3 separate regions of the Homo sapiens genome follow, and all the other regions are linked to region 2. The links are contacts of gene promoters, found by promoter capture Hi-C in blood cells and fetal thymus (Javierre and others, 2016). All regions are on one chromosome and are shown on one strand. Each heading gives the region's core, a stretch centred on a gene start or on the middle of the fragment in contact. The rest is flanking DNA. Distances are from core to core; before and after follow the strand shown. Region 1 overlaps LOC105378379 (a long non-coding RNA gene). Region 2 holds the start of POLR3A (RNA polymerase III subunit A). Region 3 overlaps ZMIZ1-AS1 (ZMIZ1 antisense RNA 1).

What was found. The method cuts DNA at HindIII sites, captures the fragments that hold promoters and counts their contacts. A CHiCAGO score of 5 or more calls a contact.
Region 1: a contact is called between a fragment that was not itself captured here and the fragment with the promoter of POLR3A in region 2, in 1 of 17 cell types (M2 macrophages). The highest score is 7.0, in M2 macrophages.
Region 3: a fragment that was not itself captured here is called in contact with the fragment with the promoter of POLR3A in region 2 in 2 of 17 cell types (activated CD4 T cells and total CD4 T cells); the score reaches 7.0 in activated CD4 T cells.

Annotation. Positions count from the first base shown.
Region 1 is chr10:78,661,108-78,663,807 of GRCh38, forward strand. All of the region lies in intron 2 of LOC105378379 (a long non-coding RNA gene), which reads right to left. Among named protein-coding and RNA genes, the nearest start is that of LINC00595, 400 kb to the left of the region's middle. The HindIII fragment of the contact is 3,792 bases long and covers 1-2,700 here.
Region 2 is chr10:78,028,101-78,030,800 of GRCh38, forward strand. POLR3A (RNA polymerase III subunit A) reads right to left here and starts at 1,415. Exons shown (of 31, transcript NM_007055.4): 1 at 1,264-1,415. The coding sequence starts at 1,307. RefSeq lists an enhancer at 1,335-1,584. The HindIII fragment of the contact is 13,008 bases long and covers 1-2,700 here.
Region 3 is chr10:78,969,311-78,972,239 of GRCh38, forward strand. All of the region lies in intron 5 of ZMIZ1-AS1 (ZMIZ1 antisense RNA 1), which reads right to left. Among named protein-coding and RNA genes, the nearest start is that of ZMIZ1-AS1, 97 kb to the right of the region's middle. RefSeq lists an enhancer at 2,850-2,929. The HindIII fragment of the contact is 3,571 bases long and covers 1-2,929 here.

The DNA.
Region 1 (2,700 bases), core at 195-2,694, 630 kb after region 2:
ATTGATGAAAACAAAATGTGTCACATTTCTGTTTTGATCAGCCCTTTTAAGGAATTTCCCCACTCCTTTCCATTCTAAGCTGGAAACACCCAAATCTATACACAATAGAGTCTCACTGGACATGTCATTTATGGAAGTTGTTCCCTTGACTTGACTTAGTTAATTCCAGTGCATCCTTTATATCACAGCTTATATGTCACTTCCTCCTGGACTGGTTCCCTGCCTGCAGACTAGATTTAGTCTGCTTTTTCTGCTTCTAGGACAGCCTGGGATAGTCTGTGAGAGCAGTCATTAGGGCTGATAATTATATAGCCCTAAGAGTTTCTTTATAAATGTCTGATTCTCTCACTAGACTGTCAATCTCATGAGGACAAGGGCCATGCCTATTTGTTCATACTGCTTCCCAAATACTTAGCATGGACTGGCTAAATAGGCACTAACTAAATATTTGTTGGATGAGTGAATGAATGAACAAATTTCCATGTGAAGAAACAGGCTTCATCTGCCTGGACCCTACATCAATCTTTTGTACTCCTGTGCTACCAACTGTGATTTTGCTCTTCTATTTAAACTCTATTTCACCCGTCAAGTTTGATACATGATCTTATGTCTCTCAATGCCTGGCCTTGCCTCCCTCTCTTGCCACCTCTTTGGATACATCACTCACAAGCCGCTAGGCAACGCCCACCCATCATAACCCTTCTTCTACCCCACTGGGCTGACCCCAATCAGATTTCCTGCCCATAGGAAGACCACCAGAGGGGTTTGTGATTTGTTACCTACAAATAAAATCATTGACCTTCCAATATCAAAGCTACCTTAAAGGTCACTTGTTCAATTTCACCTTTTGTCTGATGAAGAGAGCGGGAATCAGACAAGATAGGTGAATTGTCCTTGGACAGAGAGCAGGAGGAAAAAGGAGTCCCTGGGATCCATTCCATGTCAGCATTCATTTCAAAACGGTGTCTGCTTGTTCATTTTTTAAAGTAAAAATTTAAATTGGTACATGCATGACATTCAAGAAGCATAAAAGGATTCTAAAATGCTATACAAAGAGTGCTCATTACACTGTATGTTTATACTGTCACTTACTCCCATTTTACTGATGAGGAAACTGAGCCTTATAATTACTAAATAGTGCCTCTAGGACTTGAACTCAAGCCTGCCTCTTCAGAGTCCTTTACTTTACTGAACCCTAAACACATGTAATTGGTTCAAGCTAAAGTGGCCTTCTATAAGCTCTAGACCCTGAGCTACTTAGAAACAAGATCACAGCCTGGCGCGGTGGCTCACGTCTGTAATCCCAGCACTTTGGGAGGCCAAGGCAAGTGGATCACCTGAGGTCAGGAGTTCAAGACCAGCCTAGCCAACTTCGTGAAGCCTTGTCTCTACTAAATATACAAAATTTAGCCAGGCATGGTGGCAGGTGCTGTAATCCCAGCTGCTCAGGAGGGTGAGGCAGGAGAATCACTTAAACCCAGGAGGCAGAGGTTGCAGTGAGCCGAGATTGTGCCACTGTACTTCAGCCTGGGTGACAGGAGTGAAGCTCCATCAAAGAAATAAAGAAACAAACAAACAAACAAACAAACAAACAAGACCACATACACCTTATTTATCTTTGGCAACACCAGTTCCTAGTTCAATATATTGTCACATAATAGGTCCTAAATAAACATTTAAAGGATGAATAAATTAATGAGGAAATTCACAATAATTAAAAGTTTGAAGCAACAGTTAGCATAGCATGATTTTCATGAACGATGGGCAGGGCAAAGAAGACAAGGCTATACATTTATCTCAAAAACTCATAGTGGCTAGAGAGAAACATTTGCCTCCTTAAGCTGAATGAACTTGTAGAGAATAATTTTTTTTGCTGCAAATGCTTAGGATATAAAAATCTGTATATATCTTGTTGAAACAGCCTAGATATGAGCATAATTGCAGTGATGTGTTACTCTCCAAATTAGAAACTAGAAATGGTGGTGGAAGGAAGGTAGGAATCATGGAGGGACACATGTCCTCTTCTTACCATTAAAGTTGATATAACCATTAAACTCTATATAATCATTACACACACGTGTATGTATGGTGTGTATGTACAGTATTAACCAACTGCTTTGAGAAAATTGTATGAAAGGTTAGACTGTTGAGAATCTGCATGCATGAATTTGAATATATGGGAGGAAGTGTGATTTTAATGCTTTTGGATATATATCTTAACCCTGCCTTGGAGGTTTTCAAGAAGTAGTTTCAATAAATGTAATTTGCCTTGTAATTAACACATTGAATGCTTCTAAAGTGCCCTCTTTGTCTTTTTTTTAATAGTTTTAAGCCATCCTTTGTCTTGACATTTGTCACTTGCTGAAATAATCCCTCTTTTCCATTTATACCACAAAGGTGAACCTCACCCAAGCCCCAGCATGGTGAAACTCAGAAATTCCAGGAGGAGAGGGTATTTAAAGTGAAGTCATGTGATATGTAGAATTGTGGCCCCTGCCCCACAGGACTTTGAAGACTATAAATGTTAAAGTATGATATACGTCAGTTAGCACCTTGTTTGGCATGCAGTCCTTGCTCAAAACCCAGCAACTATGTATTGAAGCTGAGTGGGGTGGGGGGTGAACCAGGCTGAAAGTGGGGAAGACAAGGCAGAAGAATGGGCTGTAGACCAGATAATGTTCATTTTCCCCAGGGCTCCTA
Region 2 (2,700 bases), core at 165-2,664:
GGTCTCTCGACCTCTAATTCTTTCCACCATGAATCAAGAGATTTTCCAGAAGGAGAACTCTTATCAAGATACTCTCCTGTTGAAAATCCTTCAAAGGTTCCTCACTGCCTACAAGATGACTTCTTAACACAGCTTCAAGTCTTCTGCTTCCTTCTGATCACCTGTGTTCTCTCCCTCAGGTCTGCTCCTTGAAAAAAGCAGTTTGGTCTGCTTTCTTTTGCCTGGACCCATTATGTGCTCTCAAAACCCCCTGGACCTACCCTTGTCATTGCACTTGTCGTACCCAGTGTTGACTTGTGTACCTTCTCCAACTAGATTAGGCAGTAAAAGTTTTATTCAGACCGTATCTTTAACGTCCAACACTGGGAATAACGCGCAGTATCCTCCTCAGTGTCTGCTGTAAGAATGATGAATTCACTTTTTTTTTTGAGACACCGTCTCACTCTGTCACTCAGGGTGGAATGCAGGAGGTTGCCCACTGCAACCTCTGCCTCCCAGGCTCAAGTGATTTTTCGGCCTCAGCCTCCCGAGTAGCTGGGACCACAAGGGCGCGCCACCACGCCTGCTAATTTTTGTATTTTTGATAGAGACGGGGTTTCGCCACGTTGCCCAGGCTAGTCTCAAACTCCTGAGCTCAGGAGATTCACCCGCTTCGGCCTCCTAAAGTGCTGGGATTACAGGAGTAAGCCACCGCGCCCGGCTGGATTCACTTTCTTACCGAGAACTCTAAGAAGGAGCCACCGCCTAATAACGTATTTCTGAAGGCAAAAGTCCGGATAGCAGCTTTATTTCTGACACTGCCATCCGTCGGCCTGTGGTACAGCTTTCTAGTGGGCAACCCCATCCTTTTGGTAAGCAACTACTGCCTCCGTGTCAGACGCTCTGCGGCTGACAGAATTAGAGACAGTCCCCGCCCCAGATTGCTCCCCTCGCTGCAGCAGGGGATAGTTCGCTGAAGAACAGGGATCATTGTATGACTTCAGGAGAATGCGAGCTTTGGCCCAGGGTGCACAAATCATTAAGGCTCAGGCCACTCCGACTTCTCCGCCCAAGTCCAGGGACCTCTCGAGGTGCTGAAATCCCCTCAGCCTGACCAATGCTCTTTGACCAACGCTGGTAGTTCTGGGCGCTGGTCACACCTATGGACTACTGGCCCTCCCCTTCCCATTGCACCCCATCTCTGACCCTGCAAGACCCGGGACCGCTGACCTCGGACCCCTTGCCCTATTTCTCAGCCCTTTGGCCACTCTTACTCCGTCTTACATTTTCTTGGCCACATCCGTCTCCCGGAACTGCTCCTTCACCATGATGACCGCTGCCGGGACGCCTCCTTGGCACTCGGGAGGCCAGATTAGAGAAACGATGCCCCCAGCACCTCCTGGGGCTGCTTCTGGACTCGCCGCTAACACATCTGCGGCATCCTCTCGGCCACCGTAGAGTGTCCCACGTGTCCGCTTCCTCTTCCGCTACTCGCCCGCGCGTCTGTCTGTCAAGAGAGACTTCCGGCATGCCTTTTTTTTTTTTTTTTTTCCCTTTCCCCGCACCGTCACCTGGTGGCGCTTACTGGAAGCCGCACCGAGGCGTGTGCTGTATTTTAAAAATCCCATTTCTGGTCAATTTCTCCACGTAATCAGACACCCGCAGAGAAACTGCATATAACTCTTTGCCTCAAGGCTTTTAGACAAGCAGAGGGCCAAAACTTGCATAAAATGGAAAATCATCATCATTAACATCAGTACCATCTAAATTAAGAGCTTCTAATTGTTTTAAGGGAAGGTGGAAGCTAAAATGAACCGGCCCATCCAACAGAGGGCACTATCTGTGGAGGACCAACAAAGGAAAACAGAGCGGAAAATATGGGCGCACATGTGCCTCCAGTTCATGAAGTTATTTGGAGGGAGGGGGGAAGAATTAAACTTACATTATTGATTACAAAAACAGTTGAAAATCTGTTAGAGTGAAAACAGCCATGGTAATCTACAGAAGAAAAGGGAGAATGGAAAGTAAAGATCATTCATGTCTTGAAATAAGTTGTCTACAGTCTGTGAGAACTTGTGGGAGGTGATCCTAGTGTGATATATTAGTGCATGAGCCTAGCAAGGAAATCACATCACCACAGGGCTTAGCGCTTAGAATTAGAACTAAGTCCTCATTATTTGTGAGAAACTCAAAACAGAACTTAACAAAAGTGTTTAACAACTTTCAATTTTTAAGAAGGGACGCTATCTCATTTTCAGACGCCATGGATCCTCACTAGCAAAACACAATGTCACAGACAAACGAGGCATATCAGGTTTTTCTAACTCATTTCGGTACTCCATCACTTAATCATGAAATAATGTTGACTATATATATATATATATATATATATATATAGTCAACATTATGGGTTTTTTTTGTTTTTTTTTTTTTTTTTTTTTTGAGACGGAGTCTCGCTCTGTCGCCTAGACTGGAGTGCAGTGGCGAAATCTCGGCTCACCGCAACCTCCGCCTCCCGGGTTCAAGCGATTCTCCTGGCTCAGCCTCCCGAGTAGCTGGGACTACAAGCGCCCGCCACCACGCCCAGCTAATTTTTGTATTTTTAGTAGAGACGGGGTTTTACTATGTTGGCCAGGCTGGTCTCGAATCCCTGACCTCGTGATCCGCCCGCCTCAGTCTCCCAAAGTGATAGGATTACAGGTGTGAGCCACCACACCCGGC
Region 3 (2,929 bases), core at 189-2,688, 940 kb after region 2:
CTCTTTTTTCTCTAGCTGACAGGCCAGTCTGGCTCCTACCTCCACGCCTAGCTCAGGTGCCTGAAATCCCACCCTGGGTCCATGCCTCAGGTCTCTACTTAGTCAGTAAGCCAGATGAGGCCCACCTGATATTAAATTTAATCCCAGAAGTCAACTCCAATTCGTTGGCATCAGTTTCCTGTGTTGAGAAGGATTCTGATGCTATATGGGGGCTCAACGGGAAAGGGTCATGATTGATGAATGATGTTAAGCACAGTACAGGAAGGATGTGCCACTGGTTTGCTGTAACCAGCCAAGATTCTTTAGCCATTTTAGGAGATGCAAATGTGAGAAGTGTCAGCTCCCAGTCCCATGCCCTGCTCTGTGCTCAGCCTTGGGCTGGGCTCAGAGGAAAGTTAAGAGAAAGGAAAAGTCCTGCCCTTTGACTGACTGGGAAGTGGGGAACACCAGAAGCACTGGATTGAGTTTCCCATCTCTACGTGAGCGTAGGGCAAAATGGCCCTAAAGGTTCTGAGGTCCAGGGAGACAAAGTAAACTGCCAGGGTGCGGCGTGGCCTCTCAAACACACGTGGAGCCTCACGAACCCACTGAGTAACAACAGAGGCTCTGTGTGGCTGGCCCTGAGGTACAGGGCAGCAGGCAGAGCTGAGGTCAGAGCGCGCACACACAGGTCAGAAGGTCAAGATGCTCCCTGTGCTTGGTGAACGCAAGCTGGGCTTTGAAGCGGGGTGAGATCTCTAGAGATCTGGATCTCATTTGCTTCCCAATCCCACCCCTCATAGGATGGGAACCTTAGAGAGGCTTCTTTGACCACCCAGACTAAAAGAGGTCCTCATATAACCCGTTATTCTCCATCTCAGCATCCTGATGTGTTATCACAACGTGCAATTCCTTTTTTCACCTACTAGTTCGATTTGTTTTGTCTGTCTGTCCCAATAGTCTGGGAGCCTCAGGAGGGTAGGGATTAGGTCTGTCTTATTCACTGTCTTCATATCCTAACACAGTGCAGCAATAGAACTGGTTCAAATCATGGTTGTTCAATTAATTAATAAACTGTAGCTGGCCGGGGTCACACACTCAAAACACCTGCAGGGTCAAGCAGACAAAGTCAACGAGTGAGGTGGACATGTGAAGGAACAAGTGCACAGAGTGGCCACGTGGCATATCCTCAGGCCATGCTCAGGGCAGGCCTCCCTGTGCTCCTGAAGTTGTGTTTATCTGACATATATGCAAATCGTTTGCAAGTAACCACAAGGGAATATCTTTTCTGTCTCCAAAGAAATATATATTTTTGGCGGGGCACGGTGGCTCACGCCTGTTATCCCAGCACTTCGGGAGGCCGAGGCGGGCAGATCATCTGATATCAGGAGTTTGAGACCAACCTGGCCAACATGCTGAAACCCCATCTCTACTAAAAATACGAAAATTAGCCAGGCATGGTGGTGCACGTCTGTAATCATAGCTACTCAGGAGGCTGAGGCAGGAGAATCACTTGAACCCGGGAGGCAGAGGTTGCAGTGAGCCAGGATCACACCACTGCACTCCAGCCTGGGCAACAGAGTAAGACTCCGGTCTCAAAAAAAAAAAAAAAAAGAAAGAAATATATACTTCTCCATTTTGCTAGAACAAATGATATTCTCGGTCCTTTTAAATTTTCCTACTTTTGCTAGAGTTGGGTGTACAGAGAAATATTTCCCTACTATACAGAAAAGTAACAGGCCAAGTGAGATGACCAGTCAGCCTCAGCATCAGGCGGCCCAGTAGGTCTCAAAATGGGGCCCTAAACCAGCAGCAGCAGTATCACCCGAGAACTTGTCAGAAATTCTCAGGCAAATTCTCAGGCCCACCCCAAACCCACTGAAGCAGAGACTCTGGGGTGGGGTCCACTAATCTGTATTTTAACAAGCCCTCCAAGGGATTTTCCCATATGCTCAAGTTTGAGAACCAGTGCAATAGGGAGCAGTGGAGACTGTGGTAAACTGGAGAACATACACCCGGCCTGTAGGGGCCTCTGCTGCTCAGCTCCAGCCCACAGTTGCCGCATAAAAACGTGAGCCCAGTGTGGCCAAACTCCCCAGTTATTTGAGGGAAATTGAAAATTCACACTTTCATGTGAAATGCCTTCATTTGTAAATAATGGTTTTTTTTTTTTTAATCTCACGTAGGCCAAACAAAATTTGTCTGCAAGCCTGGGCAACATAGTGAGACCCCATCTCCACAAAAAAAAAAAAAAGAAAAATTAGCTGGGCATTGTGGCACATGCCTATAGTCCCAGTTGCTTGGGAGGCTGAGGTGGGAGGTTCTCTTGAGCCCAGGAGGTCAAGGTTGCAGTGAACTGAGATTGCATCCCTGCACTCCATCAAGACTCTGTCTCAAAAAAAAAAAATTGTCCTCAAATGGAGACCAGCCCAGGTACAGCCAGAGTATGACCTGAGGGGTGGAGGCTTCTCCCCACAAGGAAAGATCCAGAAAGATGCTGTCACAGCTGTCCTTCCTAGACCAGCTTACCTCTAATGGACAGCCCAGACCCCATGCTTCCCTGGGACTCAGAGACCCCTATGTACCGTGTAGGACTGCTTCTGAGTTTTCAAATCCCAGCCAAGGTCCACAGGATCCAGCACTTCCCTGGGTCATGGACCAACAGGCTTGGACAGGCAAAATTCTGGGCCTTGAGATCAGGGTTCAAGGCAGGGCTGGGGGTAGACAGAGAGTACACTGTCCTTTCCTGAGCCCCTATTCCATGACAAGTACATTCCATGACATATACTCAGGGCTCATAGGCATTCTCTCTTTAACTTTTGCAACCTCTCCATGGAGTAAGGGTCACTATGCACATTTTAAAGTAGAGGAAAAAGGGGTTCAAAGAGGTTATGTGACTTTCCCCAGGTCATAAAGCTAGCAGATGAAGGAGCCAGGCTGTGACCCCACA